6 separate regions of the Homo sapiens genome follow, and regions 1, 3, 4, 5 and 6 are each linked to region 2. Evidence: promoter capture Hi-C in 16 types of primary human blood cells and fetal thymus (Javierre and others, 2016). All regions are on one chromosome and are shown on one strand. Each heading gives the region's core, a stretch centred on a gene start or on the middle of the fragment in contact. The rest is flanking DNA. Distances are from core to core; before and after follow the strand shown. Region 1 overlaps LARP7 (La ribonucleoprotein 7, transcriptional regulator). Region 2 holds the start of GAR1 (GAR1 ribonucleoprotein). Region 3 overlaps PAPSS1 (3'-phosphoadenosine 5'-phosphosulfate synthase 1). Region 4 holds the start of FAM241A (family with sequence similarity 241 member A). Region 5 holds the start of AP1AR (adaptor related protein complex 1 associated regulatory protein). Region 6 holds the start of TIFA (TRAF interacting protein with forkhead associated domain).

What was found. Contacts are between HindIII fragments. The CHiCAGO score rates a contact against its expected background, and 5 or more counts as called.
Region 1: a fragment that was not itself captured here is called in contact with the fragment with the promoter of GAR1 in region 2 in 1 of 17 cell types (total B cells); the score reaches 6.6 in total B cells.
Region 3: a fragment that was not itself captured here is called in contact with the fragment with the promoter of GAR1 in region 2 in 1 of 17 cell types (fetal thymus); the score reaches 6.3 in fetal thymus.
Region 4: a fragment that was not itself captured here is called in contact with the fragment with the promoter of GAR1 in region 2 in 2 of 17 cell types (total B cells and naive B cells); the score reaches 5.7 in total B cells.
Region 5: the fragment with the promoter of AP1AR here is called in contact with the fragment with the promoter of GAR1 in region 2 in 1 of 17 cell types (total B cells); the score reaches 7.5 in total B cells.
Region 6: the fragment with the promoter of TIFA here is called in contact with the fragment with the promoter of GAR1 in region 2 in 2 of 17 cell types (non-activated CD4 T cells and total B cells); the score reaches 6.2 in non-activated CD4 T cells.

Annotation. Positions count from the first base shown.
Region 1 is chr4:112,642,423-112,646,185 of GRCh38, forward strand. It overlaps LARP7 (La ribonucleoprotein 7, transcriptional regulator), which reads left to right. Exons shown (of 13, transcript NM_016648.4): 2 at 2,246-2,449. The coding sequence starts at 2,248. Among named protein-coding and RNA genes, the nearest start is that of MIR367, 3.6 kb to the right of the region's middle. RefSeq lists a silencer at 1,283-1,384. The HindIII fragment of the contact is 2,597 bases long and covers 375-2,971 here.
Region 2 is chr4:109,813,816-109,817,105 of GRCh38, forward strand. It overlaps GAR1 (GAR1 ribonucleoprotein), which reads left to right and starts at 1,947. Exons shown (of 7, transcript NM_018983.4): 1 at 1,947-1,989; 2 at 2,338-2,563. The coding sequence starts at 2,350. It overlaps GAR1-DT (GAR1 divergent transcript), which reads right to left and starts at 1,567. Exons shown (of 2, transcript NR_186620.1): 1 at 1,016-1,567. RefSeq lists enhancers at 1,323-1,422, 1,593-1,992, 2,003-2,052, 2,403-2,452, 2,623-2,692. The HindIII fragment of the contact is 3,017 bases long and covers 1,032-3,290 here.
Region 3 is chr4:107,703,275-107,706,680 of GRCh38, forward strand. All of the region lies in intron 1 of PAPSS1 (3'-phosphoadenosine 5'-phosphosulfate synthase 1), which reads right to left. Among named protein-coding and RNA genes, the nearest start is that of PAPSS1, 15 kb to the right of the region's middle. RefSeq lists a silencer at 1,619-1,783. The HindIII fragment of the contact is 1,788 bases long and covers 1,161-2,948 here.
Region 4 is chr4:112,145,360-112,148,683 of GRCh38, forward strand. It overlaps FAM241A (family with sequence similarity 241 member A), which reads left to right and starts at 95. Exons shown (of 2, transcript NM_152400.3): 1 at 95-374. The coding sequence starts at 222. RefSeq lists a silencer at 1-525 and an enhancer at 866-1,005. The HindIII fragment of the contact is 795 bases long and covers 955-1,749 here.
Region 5 is chr4:112,229,982-112,233,701 of GRCh38, forward strand. AP1AR (adaptor related protein complex 1 associated regulatory protein) reads left to right here and starts at 1,806. Exons shown (of 10, transcript NM_018569.6): 1 at 1,806-2,193. The coding sequence starts at 2,111. It overlaps AP1AR-DT (AP1AR divergent transcript), which reads right to left and starts at 2,169. Exons shown (of 1, transcript NR_186684.1): 1 at 1-2,169. RefSeq lists enhancers at 1,579-2,526, 2,551-2,600 and silencers at 1,631-1,910, 2,071-2,340. The HindIII fragment of the contact is 11,290 bases long and covers 1-3,720 here.
Region 6 is chr4:112,284,651-112,288,159 of GRCh38, forward strand. TIFA (TRAF interacting protein with forkhead associated domain) reads right to left here and starts at 1,254. Exons shown (of 2, transcript NM_052864.3): 1 at 990-1,254. RefSeq lists enhancers at 27-206, 237-356, 2,866-2,985 and a silencer at 997-1,306. The HindIII fragment of the contact is 2,980 bases long and covers 1-2,798 here.

The sequences.
Region 1 (3,763 bases), core at 423-2,922, 2.8 Mb after region 2:
TGTTGAGTTTGATGAGAATGCATGTTTAGTTGGAGATTTGAGGTGAAATGCATTAAGGGCTTTGTACCCTCTTACTGGATATCACTTTGAAACACATTATCTATTTCTGTTACTATCAGCAGCATCACTGTAGCAGTTAGAGATTCTAACCAGCAGTCAGACTCAAGAGATGCAAATACTGCTTACCAAAGAAGAGTCAAGGCAAAAGATAGGGTAGATGCAGCTTCTTCATCCCACCAGAGGCCACCAAGCCATTTACCCATATCTAGCAATTACCCAAATTCACTACTTTTTTCTCCCATTTACCCACAACAGGCATGTATGCCTTCCCTAGATAAGGACCATGGTGTATTTAGGACACTTTGACACGTGAAAGCTTTAACCTCTTTTGCCTATCAATCTGTTGTTCTGGTCACGTAGGCATAAGGCCTCCATGCCATCTAATAGCTGCTCCAAACCAGGTGCAACATGGGAAACAGATACAACACCCCCATTAGTCTCTCCAGTTTCCAAGAAGACTGTATTATAGGAGACTGAGGTTATTCTCAAGCAGCCTGTATTATCCCAGGCCTGATATTAATCCTTTGCTCCTATACCACTAGTGATTCAATTCATTCAACAAAATCGAGGCACAATTTATTCAACACATTTTTAAGTGACTGTATGGCAGGGACTGACAATATATCAGTAAACAAACAAAAATCTCTGATTTCATTGATCTTACCATCTAGGAAGGATAAACAACAAAGAAATAAATTGCATAGTGGTGATAGTAATGTTAGAAGATGATAAATGCTATGAACAAAAATAAGGCAGGGGAGTTACTGTGTATGTATCCAGAAATTTGCATTATTAAATATGATTGTGGGAGGGGACCGCACTGAGGTGACATTTAAATAAACACTTGAAGTAGGAGAGCAAGCTGTGTTATCTCTGGGGATATGTGTTTCAAAGAGAACAGGTTTAAAAGACCCCGTTAGACATTGCTGGGTGAGCTTCAAGAAGTGCAAGGACTGTATGGCTGGAGCTGACAAAGCAAAGGGGAAGAGATACTGAAAGTAACTTGAGGAAGGAGGGGGTTAGAAATTGCTGCCCAAGAAATAAACACTGGGATGAGAAGGCCACTTGAAAAGGCTGATTTATGGCTGGGCGCGGTGGCTCACACCTATAATCCCAGCACTTTGGGAGGCTGAGGCTGGCGAATCACCTGAGGTCAGGAGTTCGAGACCAGCCTGGCCAACATGGTGAAACTCTGTCTCTACTAAAAATACAAAAATTAGCCGGGTGTGATTGGCAGTGGTGCCTGTATTCCCAGCTACTTGGGAGGCTGAGGCAGGGAGAATCGCTTGAACCCAGGAGGCAGAGCTTGCAGTAAGCTGAGATCATGCCACTGCACTCCAGCCTGGGCAACAGAGGAAGACTGCCTCAAAGAAAAGAGAAGAGAAGAAGAAAGAGAAGAGAGAAGAGGCTGATTTCTACAGCTTACCAGTTGAATTCTGCCCCTAGAAAGCAGAAATTAACATTTTAAAAATCAAAATTGCCAGGCGCGGCGGCTCATGTCTGTAATCCTAGCACTTTGGGAGGCGGAGGCGGGCAGATCACCAGGACAGCAATTCAAGACAAACCTGGCAAACATGGTGAAACCCCGTCTCCTACTACAAATACAAAAATTAGCCGGGCATGATGGCATGTGCCTGTAGTCCCAGCTACTTGGGAGACTGAGGCAGGAGAATTGCTTGAACCCGGGAGATGGAGGTTGCAGTCAGCCAAGTTCACGCCACTGCACTCCAGCCTGCACAACAAAAGGGAAACTGTCTCCAAGAAAAAAAAAAAAAGCGAATACAACTTCTCTGGGGTGGGGCGGGGGCGGGGGGGTGTTGCGATGGAGAGGAGGGGGTGTTGCGATGGAGAGTGTCCACGTCCCTTAATCTTACACTTTTCACTTACTGACTTAAAAGTGCAGCTTAGTGAGATAAAGGTGTAATTTTTTATATTATTCTAGGATAATCTGGCCCTGTGTTTTAAAAGGTACAAAGAAACTAAAGCTATGATCCCTAACATAGAAGGTAAATTATTTTTAAATTTAATTTATTAAATATAAAAATGAATGTTCTTTCTGTTTGTCTTCTGATGGCCAAATGTGAGTCCATTATTCTCTCAGACAGTTAAAGGCTAATCTAAATATTTAACTATATTAGCTATTGTGGTGATTTAAATATTTACATCTTTTTCTTGTAATTCACAGGAATGGAAACTGAAAGTGGAAATCAGGAAAAGGTAATGGAAGAAGAAAGCACTGAAAAGAAAAAAGAAGTTGAAAAAAAGAAACGGTCACGAGTTAAACAGGTGCTTGCAGATATTGCTAAGCAAGTGGACTTCTGGTTTGGGGATGCAAATCTTCACAAGGATAGATTTCTTCGAGAACAGATAGAAAAATCTAGAGATGGATGTAAGTTTGCTTCAGTAAAGGAACCAATTTTTAGATATGGTTGCCTTTAAATTTACTTATAAAATAATATATTCTTTTTTTTTTTTTTTTTTTGAGTTGGAGTCTTGCTCTGTTGCCCAGGCTGGAGTGCAGTGGCATGATCTCAGCTCATTGCAACCTCTGCCTCCTGGGTTCAAGTGATTCTCCTGCCTCAGCCTCCCGAGTAGGTGGGACTACAGGCAAGCACCACCATGCCCGGCTAATTTTTGTATTTTCAGTAGAGATGGGATTTTACTGTGTTGGCCAGGCTGGTCTCGAACTCCTGACCTTGTGATCTGCCCACCTCAGCCTCCCAAAATGCTGGGATTACAGGCGTGAGCCACTACACCCAGCCTAAAATAGTATATTCTATAATGTGTATATTCGTTTCTGTAAGTGTGTTCCGTGTAATCTGTTCTAATTTTTATTTAGTGAATGACAATCTTCTAAATAAAGACTGTTGGTAACAGTTTAGGCTATATTAAATAAGCAATTTCAAATCAAAGCTTTTAAGTATTTTGGGATTTAATTGCTTCAATAACCATTCATCATGTGTAACTCGAGAGTGCTATACTTTAGTTCATACAAGAAGGCATTTCACCTAGCTCAATGTTATTTTTTGTTTCATTTTTTTGAGGCAAGGTCTATCTTTTTTCCCTAGGCAGGAATGCACTGGCTCCATGTCTGCTCACTCCAACTTCTGCCCCCACCTCCACCCCCTCAGCCCCACCCAAGCGATCCTCCATCAGCCTCCCCAGTAGCTGAGAACACAGGCAAGCATCACCAGGCCGGCTTTTTTTTCTGGCATTTTTAAGAGATATGGGGTCCCACCATGTTGCCCAGGCTGGTCTTGAGCTCCTGAGCTCAAGAGATTTACCTTCACCCCTGAATTGCTGAGATAAGAAGCATTGAGCCACCATCCCCAGTTGCTAAATTTCAAATAGCCAACCTTGTGCTTGTTTCTAATAGGATGGGATCCAGATGTCCTCTTTGAATGTCTGGGTATTGCTAATAATTTGTGTTCAAATCTTAATCTGCAGTTACATACACTAAAATGTGTCATTTTAGGTCGCCAAATATGCAATGCCATTTAGACCCTCATACAGTTTTTTTTTGTTTGTTTTGTTTGAGTCTCTTTCTCCCAGGCTGGAGTGATCTCAGCTCACTGCAACCTCTGCCTCCTGGGTTCAAGCGATTCTCCTACCTCACTCTCGAGTAGCTGGGATTACAGGCGTGCACCACTACACCCAGCTAATTCTTTGTATTTTTAGTAGAGATGGGGTTTCACTATGTTGG
Region 2 (3,290 bases), core at 697-3,196:
CTAGGATTACAGGCGCCCGCCACCACGCCCGGCTAAGTTTTGTATTTTTAGTAGAGACAGGGTTTCACCATGTTGGCCAGGCTGGTCTTGAACTCCTGACCACAGGTGATCTGCCTGCCTCAGCCTCCCAAAATGCTGGGATTACAGGCGTCAGCCACAGCACCTGGCCTGATCTGTGCTTCTACAAGTTTTGGATTTCTGAGAAAGAAGAGCAGCTTGACATTTTTAAGAAAGTAATAAACATTTTGACATACTTTAAAACTTCTTGTTCAAGCAAGCTTTTTCTCACTAAGTTTTAAGAGTAAAGACAAAAATCATCTCATTTCAGTTGAAAATGCAATCTGTGTGTGACAATCTCAAGTTCAATTCAGAATTGAGCAAATACACAGCAAAAGATAAGCAAAGGTTTCATACTAAATAGGTAATTTTCATTTTTTGTTTCAAAAATAATACACTTATATAGGCCCATAAAAAGACCAACATTCGTTAAAATCAAATTGCAGCATTTACTAAACTAAAAGAAAAAGAACAAGTAAAGTTTCCTCTCTCACTTATTTTGTTTTTTGTTTGTTTTGAGACCAAGCCTTGCTCTGTCGTCCAGGCTGGAGTGCAGTGGCGTGATCTCGGCTCACGGCAACCTCCGCCTCCCGGGTTCAAGCGATTCTCCTGCCTCAGCCTCCCGAGTAGCTGCGATTACAGGCGTGTGCCACCATGCCCGGCTGATTTTTGTATTTTTAGTAGAGAAGGGGTTTCACCGTATTGGCCAGGCTGGTCTCGAACTCCTGATCTCAAGTGATCCATCTGCCTTGGCCTCCCAAAGTGCTGGGATTACAGGCGTGAGCCACCACGCCCCGCCTACAAAGGTATTTTAAAATCCCATTTACAATAACCCTCTGAATTAGATAGGTACCAAGTTCCACCCTCTTCTAAACACGAGATCAAATATCAAGGTAAGGTCTCAGAGGGTTTGGGTGTAAAAGACTCCAACCAAATTTAATAAATGGGAAGTCATTACCTTTATTTGTGAGAGAAGCTTTGGAGAATGTGGGGGAAGCTGATGTCAAATATAAAGGGCTTAAAGAGAGAAGAGGGAGAGGAGCTTTCAGCACAGTCCAGTTCACAGCCCGTCGGTGCTCAAAACATACTTGAATACCTGGTACAAAAGATAAAAATGATGGTTTGGTTTTCTATAAGACAGCATAGTTTCTTTAAAATTACACACACACATGCATTGCTTTTCTTCCTTTAATTAGTTGAGACCATAGGACAAAAGAAGAGGCATAGTTGAGCGCGTAATGGTGCGAAAATCAAAAGGTTGGGAAGAAACAAGAAACTCAGATAAACGCTTCCGTCGGCTGTGACAGGTTCTGAGGCGCCCAGATCTACTGGACATAGCGCGGCTCAGAAGCCTCAGAGACCTGTCCGCACAGTTCCTGAAGTTAGCAACAAATTAGTGAGTGCTGTTGCGGGCCATTTTGCAGCCAGAGAAGCAAATGCGCAAATGCGCCCAGCCAGTCAGCACGGACTTCAAGAACCAACTTCATTCCTTGCAAGGTGCTTTAGTTCTGGCCGTTAGGGCGGCAACCAAACAGAAACCTGCCCCGCCTCTGGGAGAGAAGGCGGATCCCTAACGCCAGCTATCTCCAAGAGCAACATTGCCGCAGCACTTCCGGGACGTCGTGCTGCAAAGGACGCCGCTGTTATACGTCACTTCCACGGCTCAGCGTCAGGCAAGTTGGCCTCTCTGTTGTAAATTAGTGGTTAAGGTTATCTATTATTGCCACTTTTCCAGCGCTAAAGGCTGTTTTGGAACCAGTGTTGCTTGTTCCGCGGGTGATTGGCTTTTTTTTTTGGCAAACCAGTTATTCAAGTTTCTGGTCTTTAAAAAACTCTGTGGCGGTACGGTAACCGAGGAGGTTCCAGCGCGGCGGAAGTACCCCGCGGGTGGGTGTGTGCGCAAGGCCAGGGCCAGAGGGGCACGTGGCGCCGGTGAGTGGCCGTAGAAGCCGGAGGATTTGAAAATGCTGGACGTGGAACCCAACTGCCGGAGGGAGGGAGGAAGGAAGGGGATGCGGTGCGAAGACCTTGCTGTCTGTAGGGGGAGGAGATACTAATCATGGGGCGGCAAGGGTGGTGTGTGGTCGGTCGGCGCTCACGAGACCATGGAGAAGTAAACTCTTCACCCATCAGGTTGGTGGTCACTGGCTGTCTGACCGTGGGTGAGGTGACAGGGCTGCTTTTGTCTCCTTTATGGTGTTCTCACCGCAGCTCCGAGGGGTTGGAGTATACTCAGAGGCTACAGTGATCAGAAGACATAGGTCGTTTTTTTTTCATCAGGGAGGAGAGAGAATGTCTTTTCGAGGCGGAGGTCGTGGAGGCTTTAATCGAGGTGGTGGAGGTGGCGGCTTCAACCGAGGTGGCAGCAGCAACCACTTCCGAGGTGGAGGCGGCGGTGGAGGCGGCGGCAATTTCAGAGGCGGCGGCAGGGGAGGATTTGGACGAGGGGGTGGCCGCGGAGGCTTTAACAAAGGCCAAGACCAAGGACCTCCAGAACGTGTAGTCTGTATGCAGTCTTCAGTATTTAGCTTATTTGAAGGAGTAGGTGTGGGTTGGGGGTTTGTGTTGTTAGGCAGCAAGTTTGGGATACACAAGCCTGTGTGGAGAATGTAGCATGTAAGGGTGGAGTGGGGAGATCAAGAAAGCTGAGGGATACTTAGAATGCATCTTGGAGGTGGAACTTGAGGGTTGACAGGAAGATATTAAATAGGTAATCGTGAGTACTTATGCCTAATTCCCCGATTTTACAGATGAGAAAACTATGATTTAGAGTTAAGTTTTTTTGCTGGGGTCATAAGGTTAGTGATAAGTGATCAATTAGTGATATAGCTGAAATACAGGCTGGGTGCGGTGGCTCACGCCTGTAATCCCAACACTTTGGGAAGCTAAGACGGGAGGATCTTTTGAAGCCGGGAGTTAGAGACCAGCCTGGATAATAAAGCAGGAGACCCTGTCTGTACAGAAAAGAAAGAAATACAAAGCCAAGTATTCTGACTCCAAAGCCCATGCTTTCTGTTACTACTCAAAAGTAGATAAGTGAGAAAACAATTTGCTTGAGAGGGAAACTGCCAGAGAGGAAATCTAGAAAAACACCTATTTAGGGTAGTTTTAGAGTAATTAACAATGAGATGGGAATGGAAGTCACAGAAAGTGAAACTTACTACATTAAAGAGGAGAGAGGGTGAGTAGTGTCTAACTAAGAATGGCTTGGATGAGTATGCAGGATGGTTTGA
Region 3 (3,406 bases), core at 805-3,304, 2.1 Mb before region 2:
TTTGCAAATATATTCTCCCATTCTGTAGGTTGTCTCTTCACTCTGTTGATTGCACCCTTTGCTGTGGAGACAATTTTTATTTGATGTACTCCCATTTGTCTATTTTCATGTTTGTTGCTTGTACTTTTGGAGTCATATCCAAAAAAAAAAAAAATCACTGCCTAAACTAGTGTCATAAAACTTTTTTCCTACTTTCCTCTAGCAGTTTTAGACTTTCTGATCTTACATGTAAATTTTTAATTCACTTTGAGTTTTTTTTATATGAGGTGAGATAAGGGTCTAACTTCATTCTTCTTCACGCAGATATCCAGTTTTCCCAACACCATTTTTTGAAGACTGTCCTCTCCCCATCATGTATTATTGGCACCTTTGTCAAAAATCAATTAAATATAAATGCATGTATTTATATCTGGGCTTTCTGCTCTGTTGTATGGTTTATATGTTTGTTTCTGTATCATGCTGTTTTGATTACTATAGCTTCAGAGTGTGTTTTAAAGTTACGTAATGTTAATACCTCCCGCTTTGTTATCTTTGCTCAAGATTGCTTTGGTTATCTGGGGTCTTTTGTGGTTCCATACAAATTTTAGAACTGCTTTTTCTATTTCTGTGAAGAATCCTTGGAATTTTTATAGGGATTGCATTGAATCTGTAGATCACTTTAAGTAGTATGGACATTTTAACAATATTAATTCTTTCAATCCATGAATACATACAATGTTTCCTTTTATTTCTGTCTTCAATTTTTTTCATCAATGTTTCACAGTTTTCAGTATACAGGTCTCTTACTTCCTTGGTTAAATGTATTCCCAAGTATTTTATTTTTCTGGTAGCAACTATAAATGAGATTGTTTTCTTATTTCTTTTACAGGTACTTCAATGTTAGAATATAAAAACACTACTACTTTTCTAATGTTGAGTTTGTATTCTGCAACTTTACTAAATTTATTTATTCTAACAGTCTTCTGGTGAAATCTTTAGGGTTTTCCATATTATTTAAAACCACGTCATCTGCAAACAGGAACAATTTAACTTCTACTTTTCCAATTTGGATGCCTTTTATTTATTTCTCGTCTAAGTGCTCTGTCTAGGACCTCCAGTACTATGCTGAATAGAAGTGGTAAGAGTGGGCACCCTTGTTGTGCTCCTGATCTTAGAGGGAAAGCTTTCAACTTTTCCTGTTTTACCATTGAGTATGATGTCAGTTGTGGGCTTGAACTATGTAGCCCTTATTACGTTGAAGTACATTCCTTCTTTTCCTAATTTGTTGAGAGTTTTTATCATAAAAGGTTAATGAACTCTTTCAAATAATTTTTCTGCATCTATTGAGATGATCATAGGTTTTTTGCCCTACATTCTGTTAGTGTGGTGCATCACCTTTATTAATTTGCATATGTTAGCTGGGCATGGTGGCTCACACCACTAATCCCAGCACTTCAGAGGCCGAGGCAGGCGGATCACCTGAGGTCAGGGGTTTGAGACCAGCCAGGCCAATGTGGAGAAACCCCGTCTCTACTAAAAATACAAAAATTAGCCGGGAATGGTGGCATGCACCTGTAGTCCCAGCTACTCAGAAGGCTGAGGCAGGAGAATTGCTTGAACCCAGGAGGCGGAGGTTGCAGTGAGCCAAGATCATGCCATTGCACTCGAGCCTGGGTGACAAGAGCAAAACTCCACCTCAAAAAAAAAAAGAAAAAATTGCCTATGTTGAACCATCTTTGCATCCCTGAAATAAATCCCACTTGATAAGGAGGAATGATCCTTTAATGTGCTATATAATTCAGTTTGCTACTATGTGTTCAGGATTTTCGCATCTATGTTCATCAGGGACACTGGCCTGTGATTTTCTTTTCTTCTAGTGTCCTTTTGTGGCTTTGGTATCAAGGTAATGCTGGCCTCATAAAATAAATTTGGAAGTATTCCCTCTTTAATTTTTTGGAAGAGTTTGAGAAAAAATCGTGATATGGTTTGGCTATGTGTCCCCACACAAATCTCATCTCGAACTGTAATCTCCATGTGTGGAGGGAGCGACATGGTAGGAGGTGATCAGATCATGGGGGTGCTTTCACCCATGCTGCTCTCGTGATAGTGAGTTCTCACAAGATTTGATAGTTCCAAAGTGTGGCACTTCCCCCCTTGTTCTCTCTCTCCTGCCACCATGTAAGATGTGCCCTGCTTCCTCTTCACCTTCCGCCATGATTATAAGTTTCCTGGGGCGTCCCCAGTCATGCAGAACTGTCAGTCAATTAAACCTCTTTTCTTTATAGTTTACCTGGTCTTAGAGAGTTCTTTATACCAGTGTGAAAACGAACTAATACAGACTGGCATTAATCTTTCTTTAAATGTTTGGTAGAACTCAACAGTGAAGACATCCCTTAACAAATTATTGTCACTATTGTTAATTGTCTTTTAACATTCATACCGGAGATATAAATTATTGTCACACGACAATTACAGTATTTATTCTGAACTTGACCGTGGACTTACTTTTACCAGTGAGTTTTATACTTTCATGTTACTAATTAGCATCCTTTTATTTCAGCTTGGAGAACTCCCTTTAGTGTTTCTTTTAAGACATGTCTGGTAGTGATGAACTCCCTTAGCTTTGTCTAGGCAAGTCTGTATGTTTGTGTTTGTGAATTACAGCATTGTTGAATACAGTATTCTTTGTTGGCAGGGTTTTTTTCCTTCAACACTTTGAACATGTCAACCCAGTCTCTCCTGGACTACAAAATTTCTGCTGAAAAGTCTGCTGCTAGCATTTTTGGAACTCCCTTGTATGTGATTTGCTTTTCTCTAGCTGCTTTCAGAATCCTCTTTTATTTTTGACAGTTTAACTATATGTCTTGAGGTAGTCTTGTTTGGATTGAATCTGATTAGAACTTTTGATCTTCCTGTACTTATTTATACCTTTCCCCAGATTTGGAAAGTTTTCTGTTGTTATTTAAATAAGCTTTGTAACCCTCTTTCTCTTCTCCTTGAACTCCTATACCTCAATTTTTGTACTTTTGATGCTGTCCTATAAATCCTGTAAGCTTTCTCCATTACTTTTCATTCTTCTTTTTCCTCCTCTAACTATGGAAGAAATCTGTCTTCAAGTACAATTATTTTGCTTGATCAGTGCTTCTATGGATGCTCTCTATTGCATTTTTCATTTTATTCATTAAATTTTTCAGCTCTAGAATTTTTTATTTTTTTAATAATTTCAATCTGTTAAATTTCTCATGTTGGTCATTTGTTGTTTTCCAGAATACACTGAATTATTTCTATTTTATTGAGGTTTGCTGGGCTTCCTTAAACAATTATTTTTTAATTCTTTTTCAGGCAGTTCATGTATCTCCATTTCTTTTGAATCAGCTACTGGAAGGTTATTTTGATACTTTTGGTAGTATTAAGTCTCCTTGTTTTT
Region 4 (3,324 bases), core at 102-2,601, 2.3 Mb after region 2:
CCCTGTACGGCTCCGCCCCGACGGCCGGGGGTTGGGCGAGCCAGTGACAGGAGGGGCCGGGCTGGTACTTCAGGCGCCCAGGCCGGCGGGGCGCGCTCCGGCGGCTCCTGTCAGCGGCGGGTGCGGCGGATCCCAGGGCAGCCTTCGGGCGGCGGCGCTGCCTGGTGCGTCGCGGCGTGGTCCTCCGGCGGCTGTCCGGGGCGGTAGGAGTTGGCTGCGGGATGTGCTCAGCCGGGGAGCTGCTGCGGGGCGGCGACGGCGGGGAACGCGACGAGGACGGGGACGCGCTGGCGGAGCGGGAGGCGGCAGGGACCGGGTGGGATCCCGGGGCGAGCCCGCGGCGGCGCGGACAGCGGCCGAAGGAGAGCGAGCAGGTGAGCGCGGGGAGGGGCGGCGGCGAAGCGGCCGGGTCGGGGGCCGCGAGCCCCGCCCGGCGTTGGAGGGAAGGGGCCCGGCCCGCGGGCCGCGCCGCAGCTCTGCCCCGCGTGGGCACTGGCTCCCCGGCGCTCTGGGAAGTCGTCGCCGGGAGCGGTTAGACGGCGCTCCCAGGAGGAGCGGCGGGGTCGCGCGAGTGCAGACGCCAGCGCCGGCCCCGGGGTCGCGTGTCTGGCGGGGTCAGCGTGGTTCGTCCCCTGGCGTCCGGCAGAGGATTCTCAGGCTGGCGCCCAGGGCTCGGAGGAAATGCCCTCCATAGCGGTGATTTATTTAAAAGCCTCACTTGTAAACACTTCTTTTTCAACTTCGAGTCCGTGCCCTGCGCCAGGTTTAGGAGACGCCGGCTCCCCTCCCGCCCTCCATCTTGCGTTTCCGAGCCCACACCTAGCGTGTCTGGAAGGTGTGGGTGGATTCCGTCCACGGGCAGCGCTGAAAGCATGAGTAGGAGCGGGTGTTACAATGAATGTCTTGACAGGGACTCTCCCAGAGCACGTTCTTCATAAATACAGATGAGATCAAAGCTTCAGTTAAAAAGTGGAGAGGCAAGAATATTGCTTTCGGTTATAAGAGGCCAGCCATAGTAAGGGAAAAGAGAAGTTGCGTAATTTTTTAAACTCTCTGAGTTTATCTCATTTAAATAAAGTGTGATAATGGGCATTATAACATCAAATATCTTAAAGATTAGGCAAAAGGTTTAATTTTAAAAATTGAATTGTATGTTGGATGAATTTTCTACAGCAAATACAGTATTTAGACTTTCCAAATACCTGAGGTAAGCCGCTCTTTAGACTCACATTAAGGAGCAGGAATTCAAATGATTATTGGCCTTTATTACAGCCTGTACTGTTAGGACAATTAATACCTGTCTCTCCTCATCTTTCTTCATCTGTCCTTTCTGTCACGTTTCACAAATTCCAGTATCATCACTAAATGCATTAATAGATGTATACCTTACATTGTTTCAATAGGTTACTTAGGAAACAGAGTAATACTGTGTGGCACACAAAATATGCCTTAGCGTTAGGTTTGATCACCACGTGGAGTGTAATTTTTCATCTGTGACAATATAAGAGAAAGTGACTCAAGCAAATAATTTGGTAGCTTGTTCTTCGGATTCCCTTCCTAGTGGTTTTTCCCGTTAACTATTCATTTGCTCAAGGGCTTGATTTCCTCTAACTTAAATTGCTTAACTGGAAAAGTGAAGAAGACAGCACAAGAATTCCTTTGGGGGTGGGGAGGGGTTGCATTTGAGCAGGGGTTTCCAAAGTAAATTTTCAAATAGTTGTAAGGGAGCATATAAAAATACTTCATTTAAGCTTCTGTGTACTTCATTAGTATGATTATGTAGACATCACTAATAGTTGTGGTCTTTCCAAAATTGCTTATGGTACAAAGTAAAAGGATAAAACAAAAAATGAAAAGTACATCTTAGAAAACATATCACTTTGCATACCTGCCTCCTTCATTGAATGTCATGAAAGTTCATTCTCCTGTACTCCTTTGAAGTGTTATTTTTATCATTCTGTTTTTGCCTCAAGATTTATTAATGTATTCTAAGCCCCCATACACAATAATTGAAAATCACACCGGAGATAGGCATTTCCTACTACATTAGCACCAAAGAAGAATTAGTCAAGAAGACAAAAATAAGCAAAAAATTGGTGCAACCCAACCCATTGTTGTAAAAAGCAAGCTTTTCTGATAAAACGTTTCTTGGTAATGTTATCACAAAGCCTTGTTTTCTAGTTTTTTTCAAGTTCTGTAAATGAAATTATGCATTGCCATGTAATGATGGTAGAAATAGTATTACATGTGTAAAGATATTTGAGGAAGAAATGAAATTAACAACTATGGAACATATCCCAAGGACTCATTTTATTTAGTTTTTATTTAGGGAGATGATTTTTGTTTGTCCTGTTGGTTGGTTTAAGGATACAAGGACTCCAGATTACAAATGGAATATTTTTGAAAGATTGGTTTCTAAGTTAATGATTTAGAACTTAAGGTGAACTTTTCCATGAAAACAATGATATAAACAGGAACAGAACCAAAACTAATTAGCTGGAAATGAGACAGAGGCCATCTTCCTGCCGTCTTTTCTACTTGGCACGCTCACTTCGTGTTCCGGAGTCATGGATAGCCTCATGGGTATTGAGAGGAAATTAGAGGCAGGAGCTAGCAGAGGCGCTCCTTTTAACCCAGAAAAGAGCTATGGTTGTATGCTCTTGAACACCATAGCTCCAGAGGCACCTGACTTGTGCTCCTCTAGCTCTTTCAATGATTTTGTCAACACCTAATTTTCTGTATTAAGTCCCTTTCTATTTCTATTCCCCTCACAGAGTTTGCCCTTTCCTAATAATTTGATGGAGGTTTCTTTCTTGGGCTATTTCTCAAGCTAAATCCTCGTCCACATACATCCCTTCCTTCACTGATTTTTCTTTCCACTTCTGTCTGAAAGGTTCATTCCTTTTCCTCAACCTGGAAAGCTCTTTCATCAGCTTGTTATTACAATACCAGAACAAAATGTATCTTTATTTTGTTACTTATTTCATATATATATGAAATATATAAAACACCTAGTATTAACATAGGTGTTTTATTACTAGTTAAGATATTGTCTGCATCATTTTTAACAATTTGTCTTTAGATGCTACTCCATTTGAGCAAAAAATGAAGGTTCTTCTGTCATTCTGGCCTGAGTCTTTCCAGGTAGGGCGATTGACAAAGGATGCCTGGTTAAAATCAAGTCACTTAAGAAAGGAGGCCTTGGGAGAATGAATCAAGTCCTGTAGATGAAGAAACTGTGCCAGGTTTGAAATAGGATCAGGTGTCTAAAGAGAGATAAGCAAGGGAAAGAAGCAATTTCAGGGAATGTCCAAGAAACTGAAG
Region 5 (3,720 bases), core at 556-3,055, 2.4 Mb after region 2:
TTTGCTTAGTGAAGTTTTTAAATGTCTTATTCATTTGTATTGCTTCTGAGGATCATTCATATCCTTAACTGAGAGAACAGATTTACTATAAAAAAATTATTTTTAAGTGAGATTCAGTTTTAATAACGGTTTATAGAATGTCTATAGGAAGTGCTGTCAAGTCTATAGCTGCATTTTTTTAATCAAACTTTTTATATTGAGACAATTGTGTCACATGCAGTTTTAAGAAATAATATACAGATGACCGTGTATATCTTTAATCTAGTTTCCCCCAGTGGTGACATGTTACAAAACTATTGCAATATCACAACCAGAATACTGACATTAATATAGACAAGATGCAGGATTTCCATTCCCTGACCCATGGCAATCAATTATTCTGTTGTCCACTTACATAAATTTATCAATTCTGAGATGTTACATAATGGAATTACACAGTATATAAGCATTTGAGATTGGCTTTTTCTTTAACCATAATTTCCTACAGATTCATTTCAGGGTGTGTTCATCAATACTGTGTTCCTATTTGTTACTAAATATTCCATAGGATAGATGTACCAGTTTCTGTAAACATTTATAGTTGAATTTTAATGATTATTTCATTAATACATTTGTCTAATTTCAGGGGTTGGAAGGAGAAAAGAAAATGCTTTCACTAGGAAGTCATTCGGTCATCCCAACATTCACTGAAAGCAAACCATTGGGACAAATGTTATCCTATGCTTCTGATTACAAAACAACTAAAACCCAAATAAAATAAACATTAGTAAGTAGCAGTGCTAAGATTGAAACCAGATACGTATTTAAAGAAGCAAGAAAATGAGTTCAGAGAACATTTTATCATCAATAAAAACTTTCTAAAATGTAACAATTTTTCTAGGTTTAATTAAACAGGCTAAAAACTTGATGTGTCCAGTCCATGAGAGCATCCTCCTATCCACTGGACGAGGTGTCTACTAAACCACATCTTATATCTATTGTGAGGCCAACTGTCTTGAGGCCAAACAAGACGCGAATTATATGGTAGCACTTGAGAGGGCTGCGGACACATTAGAGCAGCTTTCTCTTCCCATCTACAGCAGTTCTGGGCAGCATGCTTGGAATGGCAACGCTGACGTCCCCGAAAAACCCCAGCCCTCTTGCCAATTTCCTCTGAACCCCAACTACCCAACCCAAAATTATGTGAAGATCTGATTTTCAAACAAAACGAGGACAATAATGCACCATTATTACGTTTCCCTAAAACATTAACAGTATGGAAATTAAGACACAAACCAGAGACCGGAAAAAAATCTTGGTGCGTTCAAAGTAACCTCAATCAGTTCCCGAGTCTATTTTCCGCTTATGGTGCAGTATTAACAAAAACTAAGCACACCGTGCAGAGAAACGCCCCTTCGCACTTATGACTTCCGGCCTGGGACTCTGGCTCCTCACACGCCTTTGATACAAAGTTCGAAGGCTGAGCCTTAGCCATGCCACGCCCAGCGTGCTCCGGACGAGGATGCCCGAAACTGCAATGAGAGAGGGAAATTTCCTAGTCAGGTCAAGGTCCAACAAAACAAACGTCCGCACGCAGGAATTGAACCGTCTCGCAGGCAGAGGCGGCTGAACCAGGAGCGAGCGGAAGTGACGCACAGGCCGGTCGCCAGAGAAGGCGGGGCACCGAGGTAGCGCGCCCAATTGGGGCGCGGGAGAGGCCGGGGGTGTGGCAGCGTTGGCGGCGAGCAGGGGCCTGGGCGCGCTGGGGGCGGGGCCAGGGTGCTCGGCTCGCGGGGACTGGCCTCCTTCGGCAGCTGGAGGCGGTCACTCACGCTGGGCTAGGAGCTGAGGCGAGAAGGGCCATGCGGACGGCGAGGGAGTCCAGAGCCTTGAGCCCGGTGCTCCTCCCTCGCGCAGCGGTGGCTCTGCGGCCGCTGGAGTAAACACTGCCTTTGTTCCCTAGCGCCTCGTCTTTCGTCGCCCCGTGCCCTCACGCCGCCGGGCTCTGGCCGGCCCGCCCTCGGTCCTTGAACCCCATTTCGGCTCGTGCCGTGCGGATGCAGCTGCCGGGCCTGGGTTTGGGCATTGAGCGGGAGGAGGAGGAGGAGCGGCGGCGCCTGGGCGGCATGCGATGGGGAACTGCTGCTGGACGCAGTGCTTCGGACTGCTTCGCAAGGAAGCGGGGCGGCTGCAGCGAGTAGGCGGCGGCGGAGGGTAAGCCCGCTGGGGGAGGGGCCCGGCCCCCGTGGCTCCTCCTCTTCGGCCCCCGGCGGGGAATCCCTTTCACCGTCCCCCGGCGGCTGGAGGTGGCGGTCGAGAGCCCTGCTACACTCACTGCTTAGCAGACGTCAGACTGGTGGTCGTCTTGGAGGCCCAGTCTGGGGTCCGGTCTTGGGGCCTCCTCGGAAAGAGGTAGAAGAGGGGGCGGGGTGTCCCTCCTGCCAGGGCGCCCTGTCACGCGGGGAAGGAGTCACGGGAGACATCATCTCCAGGAAACAAGGGGTAGCTTCGCGCTAATGGGCTGTAGGACCGGCTCCACGGCAACCTGGACACACCCTGCGCTGAGCTTAGGTTTAACGCCAAAGCTAGTATCCCTGTATCTGACCCTCTCTTTAGCCCTGGCAGAGCAGGTGGGATCTGGCTCCGGAGTTAATGCCTCAGATTGATTTTAAGTAGAAGTCATTTGGATGCTGGAGTAAAATAAGGTTCCAGATACTGATGAACTCTGGTAGCTACAAAGACTTGCTGAATTGCAGAGTTCCCAATGGGCATTCAGATTCTTGGTGCTCATAACTACAGGGACAATGTGTAATTTTTTCGTATTAAGTTTTTGAAATTTCGAGAGGAATTCCTTGCCCTGATTGCTACTCAAACGTCCTGTAACATTAGGTAAATTGCAGTCCTTCTGAACTTCACTTCTCTTGAGTAAACCTGGGATATTGCTTAGGTTTTGTATATGCACCATCCACAGAATAGTAATTTCATAATTCCGTTTTTGTGTTTTTTTATTTCATATATATTGAAAAAATTAGAGCAAATTCCTTTGGGGTTGGCTTTGTTGTTATTAAATGTCCCTCCGGAATTCAAACCTAGAATTGAAAATCTGAACCAAGCCAGTTTGTGTAAGGACTAAGACTGTTTTGCACTTTCTGAAACAGATTGCTAATTTTTCATAATCTGTTCCATTTAACTAACATTATTGGGTAATAAGATGTTCAACATAAATAAATTGCAGTAAATGATCATAATTTGAATCTTTGGTAATGGAGATCTTATAAAATATAGGATTCTCATTCATTAATTAGGCATTGTGTCACCTCTCTGATACAAAATAGCTAAGGTTTTACACTAAGTATCCCTAGAATGGAAGGGCAAGGATTTGCAGTTTGTGCCTAGTGTAATATTTCGATTTCCCTAATTTATGAGTTATTACTCTTGAGTGGGACATGACAGTTGTTTTATCTTGTCATCCAGGATCATCTGGTTTAAGTATTTATAATTTTTGTGTGTGAATGAAACTTACAAGGTCAAGCTGCTTAAGTAGGCTTGCCCAATAACTAGATGCCACACAATCTTTGGCTTTTACTATTATTTGTAGTTGTGTTACAGGGCGTTAAATTCTAACTCCAAGAAAGTTGGTTGGTGAGGGAGCAGTACTTACATTCTAAATGGATAAGCAAAAAACTTTATATTTGACTTTGGACTACATGATGTGTCTGTGGACTTTAGTTTTGTTTTTTT
Region 6 (3,509 bases), core at 4-2,503, 2.5 Mb after region 2:
GTATGTCTTTGGGTGGTTGCAAGTAGGAAGTTTCAAGGCTTTTCTCCCTAACGAATACCGAACACTGAGCACACAGGAGGGGAACAGAAACTTGGAAGCAGAGCAAAGGACCAAGTTATCCTCCTGTCTAACCCTGCTCAACAGGATCACCCTGAAGTGTGGCTCTGAAGATATTTGTGAACTCTGGCACAGCTGTTTGGCAGAATTAATACTAAAACCACAGGTCTTGCAAAAACAAAGAATCAAAAAAAAAAAAAAAAAGTGAAAACCAAACAGCAGGAGGAAACCCTTAGGAAAGCTCGGTGTCTTTCAGACATGAGATTTTCTTTCTCCCACTCTACTTGACTGGCCTGACCTGGGGTCCAGTCCCACTTCCTGGTGGCTGCGGAAATCCGCAGTGAGGCTCAGTGTGGATTTTGGCTTCAGAGGATTTGGGAAATTCCACCTTTCAATCTGAAATCTGGGGAAAGTCCCAGAAAACAACGGATTACTATATTTCTCTCATGAACCAGACTGAAGCAAGGAGTCAGGTCTAGGACCAAGGACCTCGGCACTCCAGGGAGCCCAGGGCCCCTCAGAAAGGTCTCGCTTGGCCACCGAGAGCGTGGGGCCGTAGCAGTTGGCAAGCGGGGGAGGGGGGTCACGCACAACTGCTCTGGAGCCACACTGCATAAATGGCATTCGTTTTTGTTTTCTGATTAGAAAAACGTTGAAAAGAATACCAAAGTACAGAGAAAACACACCCCCATCTCCAATGTTTCCTCATTTATGTAAATATTCTCATATTTTATAAAACAGGGAGGTGCTGTCTATAATTTTTGCAGGCTTTCCTTAGCATATGGTGAGCGTGTGCCAGGTGAGCAGGAGCAGCGGGGGATGACTTCCGATCCGACACCCCCAAAATCTCCTGGACAAAGCTGCTGTCTTTGCGGGATAAACAGAAAAGGGCCAGTCCCCACCTCACCCCCAGCCCGCCGCCCCGCAAGTACCTGGGGCTGGGGAGTCAGTGAACTCTCTTCAGCTGTTCGGCTCTCCCGGCTCAGAGCGAGGGGAATCGAGGAGACTGGGCGCAGGATGGGGGTGGACACCCGGCCGCTGCTCCTCCGCGCGGGTAAGTGTGAGCCCCGGGGTGCGGGGAACCGAGCCAGGGACCAGTGACCGCGAGCCGCCGATCCTCCCGCGCTCCCGCGCGCGCGGCCTGCCTTCCCACTGGCTGGCAGAGCACGTCCTCTCGCGCCCGGGGCCTTTGTAAAGAGCGCAGCGGTGGCGCGGAGGTTTTCAGGCTCCGCCCGCTCCACTCGCGCTCCCGCCCCTTCCTTCCTCTCGAGGTGACCCGGCAGCTGGCGCCTTTCTCACCAGGTACCCAGCCCCCTGGCCGCCTCTCTCAGTTCTCTGGCAGGGTTTGGTGCGCGGTACACCGACCCGGACCGCGCCTTCCCAAACGAGTGGCCTCTCCTCCAGCCCGATTGGCGAGCTAGAGAAAAGAAGGGAACTGGATCACTTCAGCATTAAGGAGGACTTTTCCCCAAAATGAGTGTTGCCCCAGGGCGTGGGCAGGCGGGGAGCTGAACTAATCTTTCGGTGACTCCAAGGATACCAAGCAAGCCAGTGCGTGGCATGCACGAGCTCCTCTAATCATCGCAGTCCCCCTTACACATGAGTAAACCGAGGCTCAGAGAATGGTGGAGTGTGGCGAGCAGAAGTGGAATTTTTTTTTTCTTTTTTTCTTTTTTTGAGACGAGTCTCACCGTGTCGCCCATGCTGGAGTGCAGTGGCGCCATCTCGGCTCACTGCAACCTCTGCCTCCCGCAGAGGCGGGATTTGAACTTGCTCCAGGTTGCCCTCGCCTTACACCCAGCAGAGCAGTCCAGTCGCTTTCTCTCCTGCCGCTTGCATCGTAATGGACATCCAGAGTCCACAAGTAAAAGCTGGTACATGATGAAATGGGAAACACCTCTCAGGAGTCCTTTATAGCTTAGAAGAAGGTAATGCTACCTTTCTGCCTCAGTGAAAAGATTTGGAATCACCTAAGTGTGAAGAACCTAAGGAGAGTAGGTGTCAAGAGAGGATAGACCCGGGTGCCGTGGCTCAAACCTGTAATCCCAGCACTTTGGGAGGCCGAGGTGGGCGGATCACGAGGCCAGGAGTTTGAGACCAGCCTGGCCAACATGACGAAATTCCATCTCTACTAAAAATACAAAAGTTAGTTGGGCTTGGTGGTGGGTGCCTGTAATCCCAACTACTCGGGAGGCTGAGGCAGGAGAATCACTTGAATCCGGGAGGCAGAGGTTGCAGTGAGGCCGGGATGGCGCCATTGCACGCCAGTCTGGGCAACAGAGTGAGACTCTGTTTAAAGAAAAAGAGAGAGAGAGGATAGACACTGTAGAGACCAGCAATCCCTGTTGGGAACCAGTGTCATGGAAGACTTTTTCCACAGACTGGGGTTGGGGCCACGGGAGATGGTTTCAGGATGATTCAAGCCCATTTCATTTATTGTGCACTTTATTTCTATTATTATTGCATTGTAATATATAATGAGATAATTATACAACTCACCATAATGTCGAATCAGTGGAAGTCCTGAGCTTGTTTTCATGCAACTAGACGGACACATTTGGGGGTGATGGGAGACAGTGACAGATCATCAGGCATTAGATTCTCATAAGAAGCGGGCAACCTAGATCCCTCCCATGTGCAGGGTTCCTGCTCCTATAAGAATCTAATGCCCCAGTGATCTGACAGGAAACAGAGCTCAGGCAGTAACACAGGTGACGGTTAGCAGCTGTAAATACAGATGAAGCTTCGCTTGCTGGCCCTGAGCACACCTCCTGCTTTGCCGCTGGGTTCCTAACAGTCCATGGACCACTGCCAGTCCATGGCCCAGAGGTTGGGGACCCTTGCCATAGAAGGAGAAAGAAGACTGAGGATAGATAGAGGAAGGAGGACAAAACTTGGCTTGGCTGAGATCACAGCGGCCTACTTCTTCGCATGGGAAACCAAATTCTGATGATGGAAATGAGTGGAAGCCCCTTGTCTGTCTTCTGTCCTTGAGTTCAGGAGAGTTGCTTGTTTGTGGATCAGTTTCACTGGCAATAAAATGACACTGATGTCCACCTGATAAAGAGGTGCTATGGGTGCGGTTAAGTTTTGAACTGTGTCAGAGCTAGGTATAATCAAGTACAGTGACTGTGGGGAAAGAAGGGTACATTTACAAGTGAGGCAGATTCCCGTAAGGGCTGCAATTTTGTTAATCATCAACATTTATTATTTCTTCTCTAGAAGTGACAGTCAGGGTACCTTCTCTCAGCTGATGAACATGAGAGCAGGTGGAAGATAAGACGTGCTATCTGATTATGTCAGTGAACTCATACAGTAGAACAGTATTATCAGAATTGGAGTTTCCAATCTCTAATTTGAAAACTGACAAAAGGCCCAGAAAATTTCTAAAAGCTTGAATAAGGCCAGAGCCCCCAAAAAAGTGACTATTTATTTCTGTACTTTCAATTTAT